3 separate regions of the Homo sapiens genome follow, and regions 2 and 3 are each linked to region 1. Evidence: promoter capture Hi-C in 16 types of primary human blood cells and fetal thymus (Javierre and others, 2016). All regions are on one chromosome and are shown on one strand. The core of a region is centred on a gene start or on the middle of the fragment in contact, and the rest is flanking DNA. Distances in the headings are between cores, read along the strand shown.

Region 1 (3,856 bases), core at 869-3,368:
CTGGTTTTAAAGATAATAAAATGAGGATGTGCAACAGGAATATGAAAGGATACCATTAGTAAATGCACAGGCATTACATTTTCTAGACCAAGCCAAAAAAAAAAAATTCAAAGCCATCAAGATTTTTAAACCCCCAAGTATATTTAGTTGCCTCAGGAAAGTATTAAACCTGCAGATCTGACGGTACTATCCTTTCAGGTAACAAGAACACAGTAACTTCATAGAAGAGTTGGTATTATAAGCAAAATTAAAAAAAGAAAACAAACTGTCACCATGTCAGAGAAAACAAAAATACCTCCAGAAATCATGCTTCATGCTTCTCTATGGAGGAAACAGATACACAGCAAACTTTTTCTAAGAACTATTGAACCACGTTTGCTGTTTTTCTGTCATCCTCACTGCCACAAGTGGTTGTGGAAGCAGCATAAGCAAAGGAAAACAAAAAAAGATAAAGAATTCCATTTAACTCTAATCAAGCTGAGAATTTCACCAAAGTTAAACTAATCCTGAGCAATTTCATATTTCCCTGAAAGGACTGTCTACAGCGATACTGATGTTACAAGAACAGAAGCAGAGCCTGAGAAAAGACACTTTAAGATACGATCAATGACAAGAACTTCCTCCATTCACTTTGTATGTTAAAAAAAAAAAAATTCCAAACACTTTCTCAGTTAACCTAACAGCCAACTGTTGGTAACATGCTTCCATTTCTAATCAGGTATCTTTTTGTCTTTCATATCTTCCTATCTGTGCTTAACCTCCCCATCCTTGACCTTTTCTCCGCCTTTTGCATTTTCCCTTCTTACTTTGCTCTTCAGAGCATCGGAACTGCATTCCTACCATGGGGCGGGGGGAGGAGAGAGGGGGAACTCACTCCCGCAATTCTGTAAGTTGTCTTAGACAAGTAAACTTCCATGCGAAGTTTATGATATCCAATCATTTGGAAGTTACTTCCGTGTTAGTGGAGTAACAGAAATAAAACGACAAAGTTAGGACTTCACAGAAGAATTTTCAGCAATACAAAATTAACTTAAAGAATACGATGTCGTGTTCAACTCCTACCAAATAAGGTTAAACTTTTGTTATGGGGAAAATGAGAACCATCAGCCCTGTATACCAAAGAGCAAACGCCAAACGGGAAATTTAAAAATATCAGGATGGTCCATCAGGTGTATGCCTCACAGAATTTAAGAGCTGAACTGATACCATACTTCCGGGGTACAGAACAACTCTCACCCTCATACAAGTAGGAATAGAAAGCAAGTGTAAAATACGGGTCGTCTTCGCCTGTGATCGCACAGTAATACGGGCGTTTTGATCTTTTTTTTTTTTTTTTTTTTTGAGAGGGACTCTCGCTCTGTCGCCCAGGCTGGAGTGCAGTGGCGCGATCTTGGCTCACTGCAAACTCCGCCTCGCGGGTTCAAGCGATTCTCTTGCCTCAGCCTCGGCAGTAGCTGGGACTACAGGCGCGTGCCACCGCGCCCGGGTAATTTTTTTGTATTTTTAATAGAGACAGGGTTTCACCGTGTTAGCCAGGATGGTCTCGATCTCCTGACCTCGTGATCTGCCCGCCTCGGCGTCCCAAAGTGCTGGGATTAAAGGCGTGAGCCACCGCGCCCGGCCCGGCATTTTGATCTTTAGCACAAAATTACTTTTCCCTACCCTGCTTATGCTAACTACAGATTCACCACCTCCCACTCCGAATGTGGCTGCATTTGACGGACGGAAGCAGACATCATTCCTCATCAGTCTAAAAGTACTATGTCGTCAGAAATGAGTCCCGACGCCGACCAGGGAGCTGGCGGTGAAGCGTCGGGCCCCGCGCTGGGACCGCCGGCCGGCGAGCTGGTGCGAATCGAGGCCAGGAACGCGCGCCCCAGCCACCGGCCTCCCCATTCTCGCGTGTAGAACAGCTGCGGGTGTCAGCCCCGGCCGCCCGGCCCAGGCTCGGCAGCGGTCCCTTGCGCTACTAGGACATCCCCCACCCCACCGTGGCGGCACCCGTAGACCGAAGCACACCTGATCTTCTTCACTGATGTCGATGAAGGCCGGGACGCTCATGGTGCAGGCCCGGGCACAGCGGACACTCCACTCGCAAGACCACGCCGACCGGAAAAGGGAACTGGGCCGCGCGACGCTGCTGGCGCAACTGCTTCCGGGTCACCCTGAGCGGCGACCTGTTGGGGCGGGGCCTTGAGAGCCAATCCTATCGCGCGCTCTCGCCGCGGAATGCAGCAGGGCGTGGCAGACGCGCTCGGGCTGGCCTAGTGGGTGGGACTTACTGGGCCTCCACTCAGCGACGCTTGTCGCGGCCTCCAGTTTTCAGGCCCGTGTAGCTAACTGCATTGATGTTGCCTCCCGCTGGCGCCTCCCTAAGTCCACCTTCCCTTGAAATGTTAAGCTTGTTGGGTCTTACCAAGTATGGATGGGTTTGTGTAGACCTGAAACTCTCCTGTACTGCTGTTGGGAACATAAAATGGTGCAGTCACTTTGCAGAGGAGCGGCAGTTTCTGAAAAAGTTCAGTATCCACCCAGCATATGACCCAGCTATTCTTCTACCCAAACTGTATGTCCGTACAAAGACTTGTACAAGAATGTTCATTGCCGCTTTTAAAAAATAGCAGCTTTGGCTGGGCGCAGTGGATCTCACGCCTGTAATCCCAGCACTGTGGGAGGCCGAGGTGGGCGGATCACTTGGGGTCAGGAACTGGAGACCAGCCTGGGCAACATGGCAAAACCCCGTCTCTACTAAAAATACAAAAATTACCGGGGCATAGTGGTGCGCGCCTGTAATCCCAGCTACTCGGGAGGCTGAGGCAGGAGAATCACTTCAACCTGGGAGAAGGAGGTTGCAGTAAGCCCAGATCATGCCACTGCATTCCAGCCTGGGCGACAGAGCGAGACTCCGTCTCATAAAATAAATACACAATTCAGTAGTTTTTAGTATTTTCAGAGTTGCACAACCATCACTACTATTTAATTTTAGAACATTTTCATCACCTACAAAAGAAACTACCCATCAGCAATCACTCCCCAGACCCCCGGCCCCACCTCTCTCCAGCCCCTGGCAAACACTACATTTTGTCTCTATGAATTTGCCTTTTCTGGACATTTCATGTAAGTGGAATCACAAAATACACGGTGGCCTAAGTCAGACTTACTTCATTTAGCATAATGTTTTCAAGGTTCGTCCATGTATCCCTCCTATATTCCTATTTATTGCTTATAATATTGCATTGTTATGGATATACCACATTGTGTTGATTTGTTCATCAGTTGGTGGACACTTGGGTTGTCTCCATTTTTTGGCTATTATGAATAATGTTTCCATGAACGTTAGTGCACAAGATTTTGTGTGTACGTATATTTCTCTTAGGTATGTACCTATGAGAGGAATCAGTGGCTTATTTAGTAAATTTATGTTTAGCTTTTTCAGGAGACAGTTTCCAAAAAGTTAACACTTTATTTTCAATAGCCAAAAAAAAGGAAACAACCCAAATGTTCATCAATAGATGAATGAAGTGGATCAAAAAATTGTTATACATCTGCTTAATGGAATACTGCTGTGCAACAAAAAAGGATGAATTATTGATACATGCAAAAACACAGATGAATCTTTTTTTTTTTTCAGTCTCTTCAGCCTGGGTGACAAAGTGAGTGAGACTCCATCTCTTAAAATAAAAGCTTGATTTTTTTTCTTTAGTTGACAATCCCAAAATAATTCAAAATAATTTTGTTCAGTTAATCATCATACTGTATGATTCCATTTATATAAAACTCTAGAAAGTAGAAACTATAATGACAGCATTATAGATTGCTGTTGCCTGGGGGCAGGGATTGGGTAAGGCGGGGGGAA
Region 2 (4,046 bases), core at 611-3,110, 1.1 Mb before region 1:
AAGGTTCTGCTGAAGTTGAATTCAAGACTGTTCTTTCATCACAAACTTGAGTTTCCTGGACATTTGTTTGCAGAAACAACCGTAGGGTTTTGCCTTAACCTCGTGGGTTTATTATTACCTCATAGGGACTTTGCCTCCTGACAGCAGTTTATGGGTGTTCATTGTGGCACTTGAGTTTTCTTGCATACTTGTTAGAGAAACCAAGTTTGTCATCAACTTCTTATTTAACCCCCTGGCTATAACTTCATGGATTATGTTATAATTAAGCCATCCAGAGTAAAATCTGTTTAGATTATCTTGGAGTAAGGGGGAAAAAATCTGTAATTTTTTCTCCTCAACTAGATATATACATAAAAAATGATTGTATTGCTTCATTTAAAAAATATAACGCAAAATCTCTTTTCCTTCTAAGGGCCTTTAATATGTAATAACAAGAGCTAATGTTGAACACAAGCCATTGCCAGGTACTTAAACTGTCTCACTTAGTCTTGCCAACCTAAGCAAGTAGATGCCATTACTATTCCCATTATATTGATGAAAAAATGAGGTTGAGAAAGGTTCAGCCGCACAGCCAAATACATAGTGGATCCAGGGTTTGGTCCCAAGTCTTGAGTCCAAAACCCTGGTTCTTACCATTACTGTGGTTCTGTAGGGGTGAAAAAATTTTTCTTCTAATCTCTTAGGTTCAGAGCCTGGGGCCTGAGAATTAAACTGACAAAGACAGATTAACAGAAGACAAAGTTTATTACGCAGGTACATGGGGTTCTTACAGAAACAAAGTGAAAACCCAAAGAAGTGGCTTGAGAGCTTATATACAATTTTAACAATGGGCGATTGTAGAAAAGTGATAAGACAAAGGAAAAGAGGTTTGAGCTTCTTGGGCAGTAAATTATGGGAAGTTAAATATGTGGGGGAAACTAATGGAAGATAAGGGTATTTTTTATTTTATTTTATTTTATTTATTTTGAGACAGGGTCCTGCCTTGTCACCCAGGCTGGAGTGCAGTGCTATGATTGTGGCTCACTGCAGCCTCAACCTCAGCCTCCTTGGTTCAAGAAATCCTCCCACTTCAGCTCCTGAGTGGCTCCAGGCAAATGCCACCACACCTGGTTAATTTTTTAAATTATTTTATAGAGACAGAATCTCGCTATGTTGCCCCTGGCTGTTCTCAAACTCTTGGCCTCAAGAGATCCCACCTCAGACTCCCAGAGTGCTGGGATTACAGGCTGGGTGCTGAGCTATCGCACATGGCCTGTATTAGCCATAGACTGAGGGGAAATACATTTTCTTGAGAGCCTCAGCCTAGTGATCACTTGTATGAATAAACAATGATGGGTGGCTGCCAAAGTCAGAGAGCAAATACTGCGTGTGACAACTAAGTGTGGGAAGCTCAGTGTGGGAAGAAAAAGCTTCCCAGTTTCAGACATGCCCCTTAGTAGGGACAGCTGCCTCTTGTGTTTGGACAAAGTGTCCAAGTTCAAGTGTTTCACACACACACTGTTCCGTCTTCTGTTTGATCACAACCCTATGAGGCAGCCTGGTTTTCTTATTTCTATTTTATGGAAAACCTACTTAAAAGTCAAGCAACTTGTCCAAGGCTACCCAGCTTGAATATCTGACTCTCTCCACTTTGCTGCTACACACACACACACACACACACACACACTTTGCACTGTGTGTGCAGATACATATGCATATATATATTTAACTTGTGAAGCTGATACTGACTCTTTAACTGCCCTCCACCCATCACTAGTCATACCAGTGATCATTAGGCAGAGGCTCTCAAGAAAATGTATTAGTTATTTCCCCTCAGTCTATGGCTAATACAGGTTACTCACATAAATGAGCTGTCATGTCCTTTGGACAAAATGTCCAAATCGCTCATAAGCAATGGGTGAAGTATTTGAGGTAGGGCGGACAGGATTTCCTTTTGGTGGTTAGCTCGTTGCCTGTTAGCTCCTGGTGATATCTGTGTTTGGAAGAGAACTAAACTGCATTTCACTGAAAACACTCCTTCAGGTCTATTACAAACCAGATGAGGATCCCCTTTTCTAGAATCTTCCTCAACACTGCTAACGTTTGGCAGATACATAGGTTGGCTCTAACAGCCATTCCCAATCAATCCTCTTCTCCTTTGTCTGCCTCCCACAGTAGTGGATGAAAAATCAGACACTGATTTTCTCAGACTTCTTTGCTGTGGGCGCGGCCAGTGAGGCAATGAGGTAAGTCTGCTGGTGCAGGGGCCAGGTTTCTAGGAAATACTTTTCTCCCTCATGGGAGAAAGAGAGGAAGCCTGAAGTAAGCTTTCTTCTGCAGCCCTGGCCCGCTGCCTGTTCTGGATGAGGGTATGCTGGGATATGACAACGGAAGCCAGCGGGGTCGCAGAGCAAGAGCGAGGCGGTGGGCGGAGTCGAGGGACGGGAGGCGAGGCGAGGCGAGCCAGGGGGCGTGGCTTTCTAACTGCGGGGTGCGGCCAGCCGAGGTGGGCGGGGCCGCGTTCCGGGACGTGGTCGTCCGGGCTTTGGAACCCCGCCTGTTAGGGGCCGGGCTGAGGCGAAAGGGTGGGGCCGCGCTCCATCGGGGCGGGGCTTGTGGAACCTCGAAACCCCGGCGACTCGGGGCCTGAGCGCGCGTCTCCCGGCGCGGGGTTCCTCCCACGCAGACCCTCATTCAAACGATGCCAAAGGGGCGGCGCGGCAGCCACAGCCCCACCATGAGCCAGCGGTCGGCTCCGCCCCTCTATTTCCCGTCCCTGTACGACCGCGGCATCTCCTCGTCCCCGCTCAGCGACTTCAACATCTGGAAGAAGCTCTTCGTGCCGCTGAAGGCGGGCGGGGCGCCAGTGGGCGGGGCGGCGGGGGCCCGGTCCCTGTCCCAGGCGCTCCCCGCCCCGGCGCCCCCGCCCCCGCCACCACCCGGCCTGGGTCCCTCCAGCGAGCGCCCCTGGCCCTCGCCCTGGCCCTCCGGCCTGGCCTCCATCCCCTACGAGCCTCTGCGCTTCTTCTACTCACCGCCGCCGGGGCCTGAGGTGGTTGCCTCGCCCCTGGTCCCCTGCCCCTCGACCCCCAGGCTCGCCTCTGCCTCCCACCCGGAGGAGCTCTGCGAGCTGGAGATCCGGATTAAGGAGCTGGAGTTGCTCACCATCACTGGGGACGGCTTCGACTCCCAGAGCTGTGCGTGACCTCGCCAGGGCCACCGAGCCCAGCCTTAGCCTGCCCTAGCTCCCTCCTTGGCTCCGTGCCCCGACCCGAAATGTAGCCTGGTTTGACTCCAGCCCCCAGTAGTCCCAGATCCAAAATCTATCCCCTAGCACCCAGACTCCCTTATCCTGGACTTAACCGACTCCTCCCCCCACCACAGATCTGAACTTCATGAGCCTCTTAGTCCCAAACTCCATCCTCCCTCCGTCCTAAACCCTTTGGGTCATCTGGACTCTGAGCCTCCACACCTGGAACTCCATCCGCCACCACCCCGTCCTGAACTTTAATCCTCCTGCACAGTCATCCTCCTACCCTGTACTCTGGAGCTCCACCCACCACAGACAGTCCCTAAGCTTTAATGTTCGGTCCTAAACCGGGGCTCTCCATGGGGGGAAGGTGAAGTAAGGTGACTGTCAGTTGTCTGTAGGGGGAGGTGGGAGTTGTGCAAGAACCACAAGGCCCAAGGCCGTTTCCAGGGCAGCTTTGGGACACTCCACTTCTCAATGCTGGGGGGCAGCCCCCCTGGGACTCTGTGGCCTTGGCGCCGGTAGTTCTCTCACCAGGATCCTGGGCTGATATCTGGTCTTACGTCTGAAGTCTTAGGGCTCTGGACCACGTGTGCTGATGCGGGCAGGATCCCTCAGCCTACGAGCTGAATGACTCCTCCCTGTTGGAGGGTAAAGTTGTTAAATGCCTTGTACTCCAAGAAGGACCTATTGCAAAGTAGAACTTTCAGTAGCGGTAGGTTGTCCTGCAGACTTTGTCTTTCCCATCACTTGTTTTGGCTAAGGCTTGTCCTTGACCACTGGAGAAGGGCAGATAGTTCTAAAAAGATCATTCCAA
Region 3 (4,113 bases), core at 194-2,693, 1.2 Mb before region 1:
CAAGTACTTGAAATCCAATTCAATAAATGTTCTTCTAAGCATATGCATAAACAATTTGGAAGCACAGAGATGTAGGCAGAGTTTTTTGTTGCTGTTGTTCTGTTTTGTTGGCTGGGTGGCAGGGGTTATAACTATTAAGCAAAACCATAAATAGAAGGCATTAATGGTATGAAGAATGGAGGAAATGGATTTTTTTGGGGCGGGGCATATCACTTCCACTCTTCCAAATAATTGAGAGAAACTTTCTCCAGGATATGGAAATGTTTGGAGAACTTAGTGACTGATGCATGTATAAGCTTGGAAAATTAACATTTATTGAGTATCTGGCCAGGCACTTTACATAAAGCGTTATCGCCATCCTTAGTTCACCAGAGGAGGGGTGGTTTTAGAGATGAGGGACAGTCTCAGAGAACTTAGGCGTAACTACGCCAGCATTTCACTAGTAGTGAAATAAATGACGGGCGTGTGAAGTCCAGGTCTGTCTGGATTCCCCAAAGCCCCTTACACCATACTACCTTTGGAAAAGCAATGGAAAAGAAGAAATCAGGCAAGTGATGTATGGACCCATTATACTTCCCCCACTCTCATTTTAATATCACCTTGGCAAAGCTGAAGAGCAGACATCTTCGTGCCTCCATCAGTTATGCCCTCTGGGAGTCTCAGTTCATCCCTTCACACGCGGGATACTTAACTCTGCGGGATCTAAACCCTGGCCAAAATAAATTTTAAAGCTGGAAAAAATCCACACTGTACCCTTTGCATTGCCCTAATAGGCTGAAAATAGCCATGATAACCAAATTAAGGGACAGCGGCTGAGACTCAGACTCACTCCTTGTACACATTTTACTTAGGAAGGCGGGGAGGGGCGTGAAGTTAAGCCCTCAACAATTATTTCCTTAATTTGGGAGAAGGGCCTTCAGCTGGCGTCCCTGGCTGATTCTCAGCTCTGCTCTTGCTGAGTGGACAAGTCTCGGAGCGGCCCTGCTGTGTGCGGGGGACAAGCGGGGTGGGGAAGGCTGAGCGGGGAAAACGAGGGGTTCTCGGGTTGGAAAACAAAGAGAAGGAATGGATTTGGGGACCAAGGGCGTGGAGGAGTGTCAGATTTTGAGCGAGGCTTCCTGCATACTGAGTGTAAAATTTCGCAGGAGGAGTTGGGCAGACCGAGGCAGATTTGGCAACAAAAGGGTCCCGGGCTGGGCAAGTTTACGAACCGGGATGCGAGAACAGAGCTGGAGAGATTTGACGCGGAGCGCGAAGAAAGCGGGCTGAACTCGCACTGCGCCGCTGGCTCCCGGCTAGCGGGCGGGGTCTCCAGGGAGCCGCACCTCAGCCCACCCTGAGGGCGGGGCTGGCCCGGCGGTTACATAACAAACCTGTGAGAGCGGCTGGGGGCGGTTCGGGCGCTGGTGGGGGCGGGGCAGGGGCGGGGCCAGGGCGGGGCCAGACCTGCACCGGGCCAGGCAAGATGGCGGCCATGGAGACCGAGACGGCGCCGCTGACCCTAGAGTCGCTGCCCACCGATCCCCTGCTCCTCATCTTATCCTTTTTGGACTATCGGGATCTAATCAAGTAATGGGACGACACGCATGGCAGGGGTGGGGGCATGGGGAGAGGAGGCGGTGAGGCAGGGGGAAAGGGGGTCGGGGCCGCTGACAGGACCCGAGCTTCCGCGACACCAGAAGGTGACGCCAGGGCCGCCCTCATCCTGCGGAGCCACCGGGGACCGGGGCGAGACGGGGGCGGAAAGGGCCTCGCCCTGAGTCTTCCTCCTGTCCTGGGCCCAGGTATGAGAAGCGACGAGATATCTCTCTCCCAGGCCTCGGTGAGGCCCACTTGCAAGAGAAGGAGGTAGTGGCCCTCGTGCCGCACCGCCGCGCTCCGCGGACCCCCGCTGGCCCCGCAGGTGCCCGCCCGGTTGGGGTCAGTCCCTGCTGCTGTGTAAAAGCCCCTGTCCCGGCCAGGCGCTCTTCTCTGCTGGGTCCGGGGCCTGCGGAGTCTGGCGCCGGGGTGGGCAGGTGGGTGAGCGAGAGGAGAAGATAGGCAACCCCTTACTCCCCTGGCGCGACTTCCCCAGCGCCAGAATCGCTGTCCGGGCTCACTTTCGGACTTCAGTGCGTGAGAATTGTTTTGCTGTCAGCATTGCTCCTTACGGTTCGATGTTGGATTTTATGTTTTGGTACTGACTTCCGGTGATGCCATACCGGTGACTATCTTTTCTCCTGGACACCTTGGGTTTCCCACATTACTAGCATCTGTTCCAGAAATAAACACCGGTTGCTGATAAGGGTGGTTCAATGCCCAGTTTCTTCAGAACTTGGGACTGTCTGGGGTGGTGGAAGAAATGGCGCTGCCAGCCCGCCCCCCAGCTGTCAGGATTGTTTACACCCTTGACAGGGGGTGGCATGGCTGTGAGTTTCCTGTGCTACCGTATATATTTGCAGAGGATGCAAAGTCGCCCTCTTAGGATAGGTGGGCGAGATTTGTTTTGTGTTTGGATTAACCATTAGATTCTAGCCATTTGATGATTGTGCCCTGTGTTATTAGAGGTCTTTTTATAAATACAGATTTCTTGGAGCTACAGATAGTTGTTGGCCTAGCTAAGTGGTGATAGAGAGATACCTCAAGTTTTTGGTCACTACCTGTACTGGTCGCTACCTGTACCTGCTAGCAATTTTATTTTTCTAGAAAATACTTACAATTTAACTAACAGTCTCCAACTTTTGATTGCTGCCAGAGTAATCTTTCCAAGACACATCTGGTTGTCATTCTCCTTAAAACCTGTGACACCCCTATGTTTATAGACTATAACCTAAACTTCTGGGGCATTGAAAGCTCTTATCATCTGGCTTGTATATCTAAGGTCCTCCAGGACTTATTTCTCCACCACTATCACATTTGCACCATCCATTCTAACCAAATCAGACCTCTGCCAGCATACAACACACTTGCACTTTCTTTTTTTTTTTTTTTCCTGTGGCTCAAGCTCTCGACCTTGCCTGGAATGCCTTGCCTACCTCTTCTCAACTTGGCAAGGTGGAGAAGATGCCCTCTCTACCTTCTTCCTGCAGAATTGATTTGCCATGTCAGGTAGATGGCGTGCTTCTTGATTGTAAGGGCTGCCTTGCTTATCTTCCTATTCAAAGATTTTTTTTTCCCCGAGGGCTTGCTATGTGCCAGTCTGTTAAGTGTTGAGGGTACAGTAGTGAACAACGCAGATAAGGCAACTCTTATGGAGCTTACAGTCCAGTGGGCAAGCGCATAATTGCAAGAGGTACTAAGTGCTGTGAAGGAAATAGATTGCTCTGTTAAGGAATAGGAAGTGAGAAGTGATCAAATCGGAAGGAGCTGCCATATATGAAGCAGGGCATATGCAGTTCTGGCAGAGGGAAAAGTATGTTCAGAGATTGACGGGACTGCTGAACGGTACTGTTCAACAGCATGGCCTGGTGGAAGATACAGAAGGCTGGCGTTGCTGGAGGTAGGGAGTGACTCACAGACAGTGATGAGATGAGGGTGGTGAGATCATGCAGGACCTTGGGAACCAAGGTGAGGAAGTAAGAGTTTACTTTAAATGCTTTAGGTAGTAATCACAATTTTAAACAGAAGTGACATGATCCCTCTGTAAATGTCTGTGGAAATAAATTGAGTTGAATACCATTTGAATTTTATCTACAGAAAAGTATCCAGTGTATTGCAGCTTTTTTCCTGCACCATACAGCCCAATTTTGTCAAGGGTCTAGTCTAGTGATAAGCTCTGAAGTTTTTGGTATTATTTGCTGAACTGGATTGGGTTGGATTGGATTAGTACACTGGAATCATGTAGCATCAGTTGCCTAGTTTGAATTGAGATGATCTGATACCCTCTCCATTTCAGAGTGATTTATTCTGAAATGGAGTGAATAAATGCCACACTGTGCGTCAGAATGACCTGTGCATCAGAATGGCCTGTGGCACTTTTTAAACATACAGATGCCTGAGGTACAGATCTCAGTCCAAACCGACTGGATCAGAATCTCTAGAACAGTAGTTTTCACTCTCGATGTGCATTGAATTCATCTTTCATGCATATTCCAGATTCTTTTATGTCATTTAGCTCCTAGGGCAGTGGAGGGA

The links. Contacts are between HindIII fragments. The CHiCAGO score rates a contact against its expected background, and 5 or more counts as called.
Region 2: a fragment that was not itself captured here is called in contact with the fragment with the promoter of EIF3M in region 1 in 5 of 17 cell types (non-activated CD4 T cells, naive CD4 T cells, total CD8 T cells and 2 more); the score reaches 11.9 in non-activated CD4 T cells.
Region 3: the fragment with the promoter of FBXO3 here is called in contact with the fragment with the promoter of EIF3M in region 1 in 1 of 17 cell types (total CD8 T cells); the score reaches 5.7 in total CD8 T cells.

Annotation. Positions count from the first base shown.
Region 1 is chr11:32,582,093-32,585,948 of GRCh38, reverse strand. It overlaps EIF3M (eukaryotic translation initiation factor 3 subunit M), which reads right to left and starts at 2,118. Exons shown (of 11, transcript NM_006360.6): 1 at 2,020-2,118. The coding sequence starts at 2,061. RefSeq lists enhancers at 1,963-2,112, 1,755-2,407 and a silencer at 2,273-2,332. The HindIII fragment of the contact is 5,112 bases long and covers 1-2,403 here.
Region 2 is chr11:33,699,375-33,703,420 of GRCh38, reverse strand. It overlaps C11orf91 (chromosome 11 open reading frame 91), which reads left to right and starts at 2,595. Exons shown (of 2, transcript NM_001166692.2): 1 at 2,595-3,176. The coding sequence starts at 2,681. CD59 (CD59 molecule (CD59 blood group)) reads left to right here. Exons shown (of 4, transcript NM_000611.6): 4 at 1-411. RefSeq lists silencers at 2,420-2,659, 2,840-2,929. The HindIII fragment of the contact is 897 bases long and covers 1,412-2,308 here.
Region 3 is chr11:33,771,850-33,775,962 of GRCh38, reverse strand. It overlaps FBXO3 (F-box protein 3), which reads left to right and starts at 1,443. Exons shown (of 11, transcript NM_012175.4): 1 at 1,443-1,569. The coding sequence starts at 1,466. It overlaps FBXO3-DT (FBXO3 divergent transcript), which reads right to left and starts at 1,264. Exons shown (of 3, transcript NR_120550.1): 1 at 1,212-1,264; 2 at 600-709; 3 at 293-515. RefSeq lists silencers at 1,351-1,450, 1,911-1,980, 3,306-3,600 and an enhancer at 1,929-2,429. The HindIII fragment of the contact is 5,455 bases long and covers 299-4,113 here.